Linked DNA regions of Homo sapiens: region 1 is linked to region 2. Evidence: promoter capture Hi-C in human tissues and cell types (Jung and others, 2019). All regions are on one chromosome and are shown on one strand. The core of a region is centred on a gene start or on the middle of the fragment in contact, and the rest is flanking DNA. Distances in the headings are between cores, read along the strand shown. Region 1 overlaps EFCAB13 (EF-hand calcium binding domain 13). Region 2 holds the start of EFCAB13 (EF-hand calcium binding domain 13).

Region 1 (6,702 bases), core at 915-3,414, 51 kb before region 2:
ATAAGGTCTGTAGATCAGTAACAGTATTGCATCAGTGTTAATCTCCTGGTTTAGATCATGTCCTAATGGAAATGTTTGTACTATTTTTGTGACTCTTAAGAATGTGAAATTATTTAAAAATGAAAAGTTAGAATTTTTTAATGTAAATCATACAGGCAGTCATATTCCATAAAAGTCCAATTACCATTAATTTGTTTTGGGAAGTTATGCCAGATAAACTATTTCATACTTCTCTATATTCAGAACATTAAGTATGGCTGTGGTAGATGACATCATTTTATTTTAGTGACACGAGAAAGGTAGATATCACTTTCTTCTGACAGCCTCTTCTACCCATGTCTGTCTGCTGTTTCATTATTCCTTTAACCAAGGTTTTAATTCTTTTGAAATAAAAATAACTCTCAGAAATTCAAATGAGGCACAAAGTAGCAGCAGTGCATTGGTAAAGGAATCAGAATCAGGATGATAATCACTGTGCCTCCTTAATAGATCACATTCCTTTTTTCCATTGAGTTATTTGAATTATGCACTAATGTATGAATCACAAAATTTTCACTAAACAATCATTTTATCTATTACATTAAATACTAAATGTGATATGACAGTAAGTTTTTAAAAGAGAATAAATATGACTTAAGTAACTTCAGCAGAGGACTACAGGAAGAAATCTTTAACTGGGTTCCACACACACTGCTTCTATGATGAAAGTAATACAAGGAGAGAAAATATATTGGTTGGGAAACCATTGCTCATCTTTGAGAAAAATCATAAAGACTTGGAGCCCTAGATATATAGTATTATTTTTTCCTGATATTCTCCTTCCATAAGAGATAATACCTGAAGTACTATGAATATTATATATTTAAATTACAGCACTCTAAGCAAAAATTTCACACAGATTTCCTACTTGTTTAAATGTTTAATAAATTACAAAATAAACGTTTCCAAAAGAAACCAGGCCTTCTACTTTCTAGGAAATATTAATGATTGCAATTAATCACTGAATAAGTTTCTCAGGAAAAGTTAAGCTCCTCCCTAAAGAGGGCATCTGGAAAGGAATTATCATCAAAATCACAATATTATATCCATTAGTCTATGTGTCAGAAGTGGCAGGCCGGACGTGGTGGCTCATGCCTGTAATCGCAGATCCTTGGGAGGCCAAGACGGGAGCACTACTTGGGGCCAGGAGTTCAAGACCAGCCTTGGGAACATTATGGGACCCCCGTCTCTATGAAAAAAAAAAAAAGTTAGCTGGGTGTGGTGGCATGTTCCTATGCTCCCAGCTACATGAGAGGCTGAGGAGGTGGGAGGATCACTTGAACACAAAAGGTCGAGGCTGCAGTGAGCTAGGATCACGCCACTACACTCCAGCCTGGTTGACAGAGTGAGATTCTGACTCAAAAAATAAAAAATAGACATACTATTCAGTGGCATTAATCACATTTACAAAGTTGTACCACCATCACTACTGTACATTTCCAGAATTTTTGCATAGGCATGGTGGTTCACGCCTATAATCCCAGCACTTTGGGAGGCCAATGCAGGAGGATTGCTTGAGGCCAGGGGTTTGAGACCAGCCTGGGTAACCCTGTCTCTATAAATAATTTAAAAATTAAAAAAAAAAGAAGTGGTGGTTACCCAGGGTGTTAACAATTGAAATGCTTACAACTATCTAATAATTGATTCATTCTGTTCATTTCTGTGATGACTGAAGAACTCAAGAACCTAGATTTTTACTTACCCAGAGTACTAATTGCAGTTTTTTCCGTAGACGAAACCTGTTTTTGGAGACTGGAATGCTTTCTTACAGCTGGCTTCTGAAGTTTTGGGATACTAGAAATATCACTTTTATCCAGAGACTTACTGAGGCTTGTACTACTCTTCAAGCTTTGTGGTTTAGACTTTGAGTCATGAATTTCACCCTTCTCTGAATGTTTTTTAAAGTTTATGCCATTCTTTGAATATGGTTCTTGGACTCCTACATTACTGCTGCCAACCCCACCCAGAAATTTTCTTATTTGCCAAGTATTTTTTGGTCTTTTAGATTCAAGGTCATCATTCTCCATAATTTTGCTATAATATTGGTTGCTTTTTTTATTTAACTTTTTGGATATTGAAGGTTCAGGGAGTTTGGAAGACAAACTATTTTTCTTCTTATATTTTAGATAGCATCCTGCTACACTTGATAACTTTCTGTCTGAAGTAATTTCATTCAAAGGTGATCCTTCTGTAATTGCTAAATAAGAGAAATATACAATTATTTCATTTACCTGTATAATTTGCAATACATTTCAAAAATAACAACTAAGTCCTCATGAAAACTATTCAAGAAATTATCAGTTTCTTAAACATATAAAACAAACCAAAAAAATTAAAGAACTGACAGTCAAAAGATTGGACTATTAACTAGGTCAAATGTAATGTGCTGCTTTAATATATTTACATATTCCCATCCAAAGCTATTTAAAGTTACAGTAAAACTAAAATGATAGCCTAATGAAGTATATGGTTCTCATTCCCCACTCCTTCCCAATTGACAAAGATAATAGATTAATAAGCTAATACAGATAGAAATTCCTTACTTATAAAAGGCAGAACTATGAGGAAAGGGGAGATTTTATTTATAAAATTAGAACTTAAGTAATTACTCTCCTAAATATTCTTGGTATTTGTGGAGGAAAAAATAACTTCATATATAAAACAACATCTTTAGAAAATTATTAACACAATGCCCCAAACTGAGACTTCATTTACAAAATTTATCTGATGTTTCAGAATCTTATCTTACATTTTAATAACACATTTTAAAGTATTTCAAATGTTATAATATTTGATCCTCAAAACAACTCTATGAGACTGTCACGCAGCAGCAATATAATCTCAACTATGAATAAATTTTGCCTAGAGGAAATAAAAAAGTTTCTTATCTTAGACTCTATGAGAATTAACAATTGAAAATAATTAAATGAAAATATTTTAATATTAAAGTCTGAAAATACTTAAAGATGGTGCTATATATGTATCTCTAAGTGCACTATGTATCAGATAAATAGGTTAGTGAGCAGGTAAAAATATAATCTTTGACACTTCTGATTTAGGCTTTTGGACCACACCAAACAGCCTGCCCAGAATCTCTGATTCTCACTGATTAAGGGCTTTCCCAGTCCTTCAAATGCAGAGACATCAACATAAGGCAACAAGAAACATGAAAAATCAAGGAGACATAATACTACCAAAAGAGCACAATAATCTCCTGATAGCTGACCCCAAAGAAATGAAGATACAGAAACTTCCTGACAGAATTCAAACTAATTGTCTAGAGAAAGTTCAGGGAATAAAATTAATGACATACAGAGAAAAAAATTCAGTGAAATCAGGAAAACAATAAATGACCAAAAACAGAATTTTACAGAGACACTGAAATTACACAAAAGAAAATAAATAAACAAAAATCAAGAGCTGAAAAGTGTAATGAAAGAAATGCAAAATACAATAGAGAACATCAACAACATAACTGATCAAGCACAAGAATGAATCTGTGAACCTGACAACAAGTTATTTGAAAATATATAGTCTGCGGTGAATAAAATAAAAAGAATGAAAAATAATGGGGAAAGCTTACAGGATTTATGGGACAGCATCCAAAGAGAAAATAGTCAAGTTATAAGAGTTTATGAAGGAGAAGAGAAAGACAAAAGAGTAGAAAACTTACATAAAGAAGAACAGAAAACAATCCAAATTTGGGCAAATATATAAATATCCAGGTACAGGAAGGCCAAATGCCTCTAATCAGATGAATTCAAACAAGACTACACCAAGACATATTATAATCAAACTGTTAAATATCAAGAACAAGAGGGAGATTCTGAAAATAGCAAAAGTAAATAACATATACGTTCCAATAAGGACAGCAAATTTCTCAGCAGACACCTTATGGGTCCATAGAGAATGGACTATATATTCAGAGTACTGAAGGAAATAAACTGCCAACCAATAATACTGTACCTAGAAAAACTGTCCTTCAGAAATGAAGATAAAGACTTTCCCAGACAAAAGTTGAAAGAGTTCATCCCCTATATTTGTCTTACATGAAATTTCAAAAAGTGTTCTTCAAGCCAAAAGAAAAGGATGCTGTTTAGTAACACAAAAAATAAATGTGTAAAACTCACTGGTAAAAGTAAGTACACAGTCAAAGTCAGAATACACTAATACTATAATGGTGGTGTGCACTTCACTTACATAGTATGAAGGTTAAAAATAATAAAAGCTACAATGATTTGTTAAGGGAAACAATATAAAAATCTGTAAATTGTGACATCAAAAATTATAAATGCAGAAGGAGAGATGAGGTAAAAGCATAGTTTGTTTATGCAAGCAAAGCTAACTTGCTATCAGCTTAAAATTGCCTGTCATAACTACAAGATATTTTGTAAGCTTCAGAGTAGCCACAAATCAAAAACCTACAGTAAATACACAAAAGATAAAAAAGTAAAAAAAAATCAACAGAGAAAAATCAGTCACAAAAGAAGAGAAAAATAAGGAAACAAAGGATCTATGAAACAAGCAGAAAACAATTAACAAAATGGCAGTAGTAAAATCCTTCCATATCAATAACTACCTTGAATGTAAATGAATTAAAATCTCCAAAGAAAAGACATAAAGTGCCATGTGGAACTGTGAATCAATTAAATGTCTTTCCTTTATAAATTACCCAGTCTCGGGTATGTCTTTATTAGCAGCATGAGAAAAGACTAATACAGCAACCAAAACAGTATGTATAAAAATAGACACAGAGGCCGGGCACAGGGGCTCACACCTGTAATCCCAGCACTTTGGGAGGCTGAGGCAGGTGGATCACCTGAGGTGAGAAGTTCAAGACCAGCCTGACCAATATGTTGAAACCCCATCCCTACTAAAAATACAAATATTAGCCGGGCATGGTCATGCATGCCTGTAATCCCAGCTACTCAAGAGGCTGAGGCAGGAGAATCGCTTGAACCCAGGACGCAGAGGTTGCAGTGAGCTGAGATCACGCCACTGCACTCCAGCCTGGGTGACAGAGCGTGACTCTGTCTCAAAAAAAATGGACACAGAGAGCAATGGAACAGAATAAAGAACCCAGAAATAAAGTCACATATTTACACCCAACTGATCAACTGTTGGTTTACACCCAACAAAGCAACAAAGCCAACAAAGCAGTCAAGAATATACACTGAGGAAAGGATACCCTCTTCAATAAATGGTGCTGGGAAAAGTGGATAACCATATGCAGAAGAATGAAACTAAACCCCTATCTCTCATCATATACAAAAAACAACTCAAGCTGGATTAAAGACTTAAACATAAGACCTGAAACTAAAAAACTGTTTGATGATAACATAGGGAGAAGTCTACAGGACATTGGTCTAGGCAAAGATTTTATGACTAAGATCTCAAAAGCACCAGCAACAAAAACAAACATAGACAAATGAGACTATATTAAACTAAAAAGCTTCTGCACAGCCAAAGAAATAACAGATTGAAGAGACAACATCTTGAATGGGAGAAAATATTTGCAAACTATTCATCTGAGAAGGGATTAATATCCAGAATTTATAAGGAATTCAAGGAATTCAAACAACAGTAAAAAAAAAAAAAAAAAAAAACAACCATTAAAAACTGGGCAAAGAGCCAGACGCGGTGGCTCACGCTTGTAATCTCAGCACTCTGGGAGGCTGAGGCAGGTGGATCACCTGAGGTCAGGAGTTCAAGACCAGCCTGACCAACATGGTGAACCCTCTCTCTACTAAAAATACAAAACTAGCTGGGCATGGTGGCATATGCCTGTAATCCCAGCTACTTGGGAGGCTGAGGCAGGAGAATCACTTGAGCCCAGGAGGCAGAGGTTGCAGTGAGCCAAGATCGCACCACTGCACTCCAGCCTGGGCAACAAGAGCAAAACTCCGCCTCAAAAAAAAAAAAAAAAAAAACAAACAACAACAACAACAAAAAACTGGGCAAAGAATATGCATAAACATTTCTAAAAAGAGGACATGTAAATAGCATTTTGAGTATTATATTTTATCTCCTTGATTTAAGAGGGTAAATTATTCAGAGAAGGTTTTCAAAACCCTTTATAAAATAAAACTTATAAATTAAGATTTAATGTAAAGACTTTAATTATAAACAAAACTTGTCATAGCAACAAGAGCTCACTTACAAACATCCTCATACTGTTCCTGTAGCTCATTCAAAGTAAATATAATATCCCCAATATCCACCATGTGGTTACCTGTAATAGAATAAGTTCAAATACTGTATTTACTTTTGAACATAGATATATCTGCCATCCTATTCTAATATGAAAACAACACAGAATGTGTGGCAAGTAGGAACAAAGAGCCAACTATTACAAAGTCTTGAATAAAATCTGAAATCATGAATTAATAACTCAGTACACGCCCAACATAAGAGTAAGACCATGGTCTTTTCTCCTTAATAAAAGAGTTTTTCATCAAAAGAAATAGTCATGTTTTAAGCTCTTATGCTAATCAGGATATTTTTTCATTTTACATGTTTTTTAGAGTTTATTACAGGTATTTATTTACTCTTTTGACTTCATTTCTAGATTGTGAACTCCTCAAGAACAGAGGATGTGTTTTTCCTTTGTTTCCCCAATGCCTCGCAAAGTACCTACTTCTTATCACTGAAAATTATTTTTGG
Region 2 (7,332 bases), core at 1,625-4,124:
AAATATGTTAAAATAAAATAGAACCACATTGAAAATACTCATCTCAGAAAATACTGGAAATCTATGCAGGTCTCCCCAGTAACCCATCCTACGTAATCTCTTCTAGATCTTCTCCAACCAGTTCAATATTTACCTCTAAACTACTGTGCATAGCACTTACTGCCTTCACTATTCTTGTCTTCACTATTTAACTGACATTAATCATTTGCCTTGTATTTGTATTTTTCATATGTATAGCTCCTATACCAACTATAGCCTAAATTTATAAAGAACTGGGACTGGTAACTTATCATTCTTAAAATTATTTCTCACAGTATCAAATACAATGGTATATATATAATGAAGGAAAGAGTAGAGGAAAGGAGGAATGGTATGGAGGGAGGGGAAAAGAGAGGGAGAGAGGGATGAATGAACAAATTCCCTTCCTACTAAGCTACTCACCAAGATTTCTTAAATCATCAAAGTGCTTAATTAAGCAGAGTTGACACGTTTTGAATAAATCTTGAAAGGAACAATTGTTCTGTAATTTATTGACGAGATTATCAAAAAGTTGGCAGGTCTTAATTTGCTGGATGAATCAGGTACCGCATAAGCCTCTCCAAACTTAAAAGAAAAAATTAACTTAGAAAGTCTATTCCCTGTAACTCTGACAATATAATTTTTCTCAACTATTTCAATCCTGTCTTCTATCGGTGAACTTGCAGGAACAAATCAAGAGAAATGGAGGGAGTCGTATCCCTTTTCTCCAGTCATCTATCCATTCACCTTTCTATCCATGAATTCAACGTATATGTCTGCATGCTTAGTGTGCACTAGGTTCTCTCCTAGGCTCTAGGGATATACCAATGAACAAAATATATATATGCTATATATATATATATATATATATATATATATATATATATTTTGTTTATATATATATAAAATCTGCCCTCATGAAGCTTATGTTCTAGTCAGGGAGTGAAATAATAAAATAGAAAAATAAAACATATTGTATGTTATCTGCAATAAGTACAAAAAAAAAAGTAAAGCAGGGAGGGGAATATGAAATGTAGTATAGGGGAAGAGATGCAGGGAACAGAATGGGTGGCCAAGGAAGACCTTACTGAGAGGGAGACTTTTGAGTACAGACCTGCAAGAACTGAAGTAGGGAGCTGATTAATATCTTAGGGAAGAGCATTTCAGCCAGAAAGAAAAGTAAGTACAAAAGCCCCGAGGCAAGAAGAATGTTCAAGGAATAGTGGGAAGGCCCCAGGAGGCTGAAGCAGGAGAGATCAGAGAGGCTAAGTGAAAGTGGCATATCATGGAGGACCCCTAGATGACAGTAAGAACTGTGGCTTGTACTCTGAAGGAGTGACAAGCATTGAAAGAGTTCTGAGGAGAAGGATTACATAATCTGAAGTTCTTTCTGAAAGGATCACTCTGGTTACTGTGAGGAGGGAAATCAGGTAGGTCTGGGTTCCTGAATGCCAAGTGAAGAAAGTACTTCAAGAGTGAGCAATCAGGCTGTGCATGGTGGCTTATGCAGGTAATCCCAACACTTTGATGCGGGGGTGGGGGTCTAAGCAGGAGGGCTGCTTAAGGCCAGGAGTTCAAGACCAGCCTGGGCAACAGTGAAACTCCCACCTCTACAGAATTTTTTTTTTAATCAGCTGGACATGGCGACCTTAGTCCCAGCTACTCCAAAGACTGAGCCAGGAGGATCTTTTGAGCCCAGGAGTTTGAAGCTGCAGTGGGCTATGATTGCACCACTGCACTCCAGCCTGGACGACAGAGACCTTGTCTCAAAAAAAAAAAAGGGGGGTGGGGTGGGCGGTTAAGATCAGTACTGAATGGTTCGCTAGGTTTCACAACACGGAGGACACTGACAAACTTGAAAGGAGCCATCTGGGTGGGGTGGTAAGGAGACAATGTCGTCAGAGTGAGTACAAGAGAGAACGGGGTAAAGAAATTGAACCCAGCCAGTAGGGTAGGCTCTTTCAAGGAGTTACGTTGTTAAGAGAAATAAGGCAGTAGCTGAGAGGAAAATGGGGCTGTGAGGCTTTAAGATGAGAAAAACAAAGGCGTCTTCACTGAAGCATGACTCTGTATGACATCCTTTCACAAAATACCTTCCTCTTTCCTCTCATGCCACATTTCCCTCACAAGCCGCCCGACTCGCTCGCTTTTCTCTCGCCAGAGGGACTGAAAACGTCATTAATACCAACTGCATACACAACTCCATTGCAGCTACTGCCATTCATGAACGTTCAAACTTTCGTCACCCTGTTTTCATATTTGTGTAACAAACGTCGAGTGAACGAACCTCCACCTCTTCCAAGAACCCACGCTGAGGAGGCTTCCCATAGACCCTGCTCTTACGAAGCCAACGACTTCTACAGGAAGAAAGAGGACCTGTAAGCTAGCGAGTGAACGACCCGCAAGATGGAAATGAGTGTGCTAATAGAGGTCTCCGCCTCCCGCTGAAGGAGCAGGGAAGTGACACCACCCCCGGGACCGCCAGCCTTCTACAACAACCACCATTTCTGAGGAACCACCTGATCAGTCTCAGTCACCCTTCAATCTGCCCCTTTGTCCCACTCAGTCCCCTCACTGTTCCTTTCTGGAACCTTCCTTCACCCAGCCCCACCACTGTTCTCCTTCCTCCCTCGCACCCTACTGCATTCTCCACCCTCCACCTCGAAGGCTCCCCTCCCAACTCCTCAGCGGGTCTCGCCTCCCCTCCCCACCTCTGTCCCCCAAGGGTCCCACTACCGGCCCGAGCTGCCCTCCCTTCCTCTCGGCTGGAGGCCCCCGCGCTCTCTGTGGTCAGCCCCTGCCGCCCCTCGGGCGGCGCTGCTCTAGCTCTGCAGCCTTCCCAGGATCCCGCGCCGCGCGGCCCCGCCCCCGCGGTCACCTGACCGAGCCCGACGCTCCGCCCACCGACCACCCCGAGCGGAGCGGGCCCAGGACCCTATCGGCTGTCGAGCCGGTGCTGCCGCGGCCACCGCCACCGCCCAGGGGCTCCGGGGCTGTGGGGAGCGGCTGAACTCAATACCGCCTCCGCGCTGACTGGAAGGCACTGCGGCCGCGCCTGCCTGCCCCACCTCGTAAGGGCCTGTGACCTCACGAGGCCAGCCGCCGGGCGCTGCATTCGAGCGGTGGGGCTCCTGTCCGTGCGCTTTCCTCCCGCAGCCCCGGCCGGGATTCCGCCCTCCGTCCTTGCCACCCGCTCGCCACTCTTCCCTAATCGCTGTTCATTCTCCGGTGCGCTGTCCCGCCATGGTCTGACCCCACTTCAATCTTACCTTCGGTCCGTCCTTTGAACACCCCGACCCCCGACCCCTTTCTTCCAAAACATTCCATCCTTCTTGGCTTCTGCTACTCAATAATGGACAGCAGCTCGAAGGCCATGTGTCCCACGGCTTTGCTGAAATTTGTCTCGGGTTGCCTTTAAGGAGACTGTCGTTTCCTTTTGAAAGAGATACTTTGGTTGGTTTGGTTTTCTTCTGTGTGTTTGTTTTTCCTATGTATTTATCGTATGCAGTTGGGCAAAATACTTAACGCTCCCTGAGTCTCGATTTTCTCATTCTTCCAGGGTTGTGGGAATTCAAAAATATATACGTAGTGCTCAATAAATGTTACAATATTTAATCCCTTCCGTGATACTACTGTGTTCATTTACATCTTAAACCTTGCTTTGTAGGCATTCTTTAATATTTTATTTAGATTTTTATTATTATTAAATATATGTACAAATCATAATTGTAAATATTTAATGGGGTACAATGTTATATTTTAATATATGTATACAATATGGAACGACTAAGTCAAGCTTAACATATCCATCACCTTGTTTAACGTTTTTTATGGTGAGACATTTGAAATTTACTCTTAGCAGTTTTGAGATATACGATATATTATTATTAGCTATAGTCACCACACTATGCAATAGATCTCAGAAACTTGCTGCTTTTGTCTGACTGAACCTTGTACCCTTTGAACAGCATCTCCCCATCCTGCATCTCCTACCCGCCCCGTCCCTTTCCAGCCTCTAACAACTATTCTACTGTCTACTTCTATGAGTTTGACTTTTTAAGATTCCACATATAAGTGAGATCATGTGGTATGTGTCTTTCTGTGCCTGGCTTTTTTCACTTAGTATGTCCTCCAAGTTGATTCATGTTGTCACAAATGACAGAAATTCTTTTTTAAGGCTGAATAGTATCCATTGCATATGTTGATTCATGTTGTCACAAATGACAGAAATTCTTTTTTAAGGCTGAATAGTATCCATTGCATATGTTTACTACATTTTCTTTATCCATTCATCCATCGATGGACACAGGTTGATTCCATTATCTCAGCGATTGTGCATAATGCTGAAATGAACATGGAAGTGCAAATAAGTCTTTGATATACTGATTTCAGTTACTCAATATATGCCCAGAAATAGCATCGCTGGATCATATGGTAGTTCTATTTTTAATTTTTTGGGAAACCTCCATATAGTTTTCCATAATGGCTGTAATAACACTAACAGTGTAAAAGGTTTCTCCACATCCTCAGCAACACATTTTTTTCATCATTTTGATAATAGCAATTCTTTTTTTTTTTTTTTTTTTTTTTTTTTGAGATTGAGTCACTCTGTTGCCCAGGCTGGAGTGCAGTGGCACAATCTCAAATCACTGCAACCTCCATTCCTGGGTTCAAGCAATCTTCCTGCCTCAGCCTCCCAAGTAGCTGGGATTACAAGCATGTGCCACCACACTTGGCTAATTTCTGTATTTTTAGTAGAGATGGCGTTTCACCATGTTGGCCAGGGTGGTCTCAAACGCCTGACCCTCAAGTAATCTGCCCACCTCAGCCTCCCAAAGTACTGAGATTACAGGTGTGAGCCACCACACCCAGCTTAATAGCCATGCTAACAGGTGTGAGGTGATATTGTAATCTTATTTTGCATTTCCCTAATAATAGTGATTTTTTTTTTCGCAAACCTGTTGGCCATTTGTATGTCTTCTTTTAAGAATGGCTGTGTCAGGCTGGGCATGGTGGCTCACACCCATAATCTCAGCACTTTGGGAGGCCAAGGTGGGAGGACCGCTTGAGCCCAAGAATCTGAGACCAGCCTGGGCAACATAGTGAAGCCTCATCTCTACAAAAAAAAATTTTTTTTAAAAGTCTATTCAGATTATTTGTCTATTTTTAAAATCAGGTTATTTGCTTTCTTGCTACTGAGTTTCTTGTATATCTTGGATATTAACCTCTTGTCAGATGTATAATTAGTAAATATTTTCTCCCATTCAGCAGGTTGTCTCTTCACTCTGTTAACTGTTTCCTTTGATGTGCAGAAGTTTTTAGTTTCATGTAATTCCATGTGTTTATTTTTTGTTTTCTCGCCTGTGTTCTTGAGGTCATGTCCAAAAAAATGCCCAGACCAATGTAGTGGAGCTTTCCGCCTGTTTTCTTCTAGTGGCTTTCTTCTATTTTTTCTTCTAGTAGCTTTCCCTCTATGTTTTCTTCTAGTAGTTCCAGTCTTACAGGTAAGTCTTTAATCCATTTTGACTTTTGTATACGGTGTGAGATAAGGGTCCAATTTCATTTTTCTACACATGGATATATGGTTTCCCAACAGTTTTTATCAAAGAGATTCCTTTCCCCATTGAGTGTTCTTGGCTCCTTATCAAAATTCAATTGTCTGTAAATTCTGGACTCTCTAGTATGTTCTATTGGCCAATGCATCTGTTTTTATGGAATACCATGCTGTTTTGATTACTGTAACTTTGTCGTTTATTTTAAAGTCAGGGACTGTGATGCCTTCAACTTTGTTTTTTTTTTGCTTTTTTTTTTTTGAGATGGATTCTGGCTCTGTCTCTCAGGCTGGAGTGCAGTGGCACAATCTCGGCTCACTGCAACCTCCACCTCCTGGGTTCAAGTGATTTTCCTGCCTTAGCCTCCCAAGTAGCTGGGACTAGAGGCGCGCACCACCACGCCTGGCTAATTTTTTTGTATTATTAGTAGAGACGGGGTTTTTTTTTTACCATGTTGGCCAGGCTGGTCTTGAACTCCTGATCTCATGATCTGCCCGCCTCGGCCTCCCAAAGTACTGGGATTACAGGCGTGAGCCACCACACCTGGCCCAACTTTGTTCTTTTTGCTCAAGATTGCTTTGGTTATTTGGGATCTTTTACGGTTCCATATGAATTTTAGGATTTTTTTATTTCCATGAAAAATAACTCTGGAATTTTGATAGGAATTGCATTGAATCTATAGATCACTTTGAGTAGCATGGGCATTTTAATTATATTAATTATTCCACTCCAAGAACATGGGATGTCTTTTCGTTTATTTGTGTTTTTTCCAATTTCTTTCATCAGTGTTTTTTAGTTTTTAGTATAAAGATCTTTCACTTTCTTGGTTAAATTTACACCTTTTTTGTTTCAGTTTTGGTTTTTGCTAATATAAGTAGAATTATTTTCTTAATTTCTTTTTTGGATTTGTTGTTGGCCTCTAGAAATGCTGCTGATTTTTGTGTGTTGACTGTGTACAGCAATTTTACTGACTTTATTAGTTCTAACAGTTTTTTGGTGGAGTCTTTTGGGTTTTCTATATATAAGATCATATTGTCAACAAAGAGAAAATTCCAATGCTTCCTTTCCTATTAAGATGCCTTTTATTTCTCTTGCTTAATTATTCTGACTAGAACTTCCAGTGCTATGTTGAAAAAAAAAAAAGCAGTAAGAGTGGGCATCCTTTTCTTGTTCCTGATCTTAAAGGAAATGCCTTCAACTTTTCACTGTTGAGAATGTTAGCTGTAGGCTTATCATATATGACCTTTATTGTGTTGAGGTACGTTCCTTCTATACCTAATTTGTTGAGAATTTTCATCATGAAAGGATGTTTAATTTCATCAAATGCTTTTTATGTATCTATTGAAATGATCATATGATTTTTGTTTATGTGGTGTATCACATTTATAGATTCCCATATGTTGAACCATACTTGCATCCCAGGGATAAATCCCACTAGATCATGGTGAATTATTCTTTGAATGTATTGTTGAAGTCAGTATGCTAGTATTTTGTTGAGGATTTTTGTATCTATACTCATTAGGGATATGACCTGTAATTCTTTAGTGCTTTTTAAATGTATATAGTTTATCTCCCCAAAGATTCTGAAATATCTGAGTGCTGAGACCATGTCTTTTATTTTTGTAAATACCCCTCAATCCACCCTCCATCACCCGCTTTCCCACTCCCCACGCCTGTTGTGTTTAAGGATGGTACCTCGGAGTACTGTTCAATCAGGCAAAGACTCTCTAAAGATTTTAAGAGTGGCTGGGTGCAGTGGTTC

Evidence for each region. Contacts are between HindIII fragments. The study calls those that stand out against the background at their distance.
Region 1: a fragment that was not itself captured here is called in contact with the fragment with the promoter of EFCAB13 in region 2 in 1 of the 25 tissues and cell types used here (mesenchymal stem cells).

Annotation. Positions count from the first base shown.
Region 1 is chr17:47,370,006-47,376,707 of GRCh38, reverse strand. EFCAB13 (EF-hand calcium binding domain 13) reads right to left here. Exons shown (of 25, transcript NM_152347.5): 11 at 6,200-6,271; 12 at 1,742-2,236. Among named protein-coding and RNA genes, the nearest start is that of EFCAB13, 49 kb to the right of the region's middle. The HindIII fragment of the contact is 5,598 bases long and covers 1-4,963 here.
Region 2 is chr17:47,319,497-47,326,828 of GRCh38, reverse strand. EFCAB13 (EF-hand calcium binding domain 13) reads right to left here and starts at 2,874. Exons shown (of 25, transcript NM_152347.5): 1 at 2,755-2,874; 2 at 2,306-2,375; 3 at 442-603. It overlaps EFCAB13-DT (EFCAB13 divergent transcript), which reads left to right and starts at 2,928. Exons shown (of 3, transcript NR_110880.1): 1 at 2,928-3,140. RefSeq lists enhancers at 2,086-2,265, 2,306-2,395 and a silencer at 2,736-3,145. The HindIII fragment of the contact is 8,264 bases long and covers 1-7,293 here.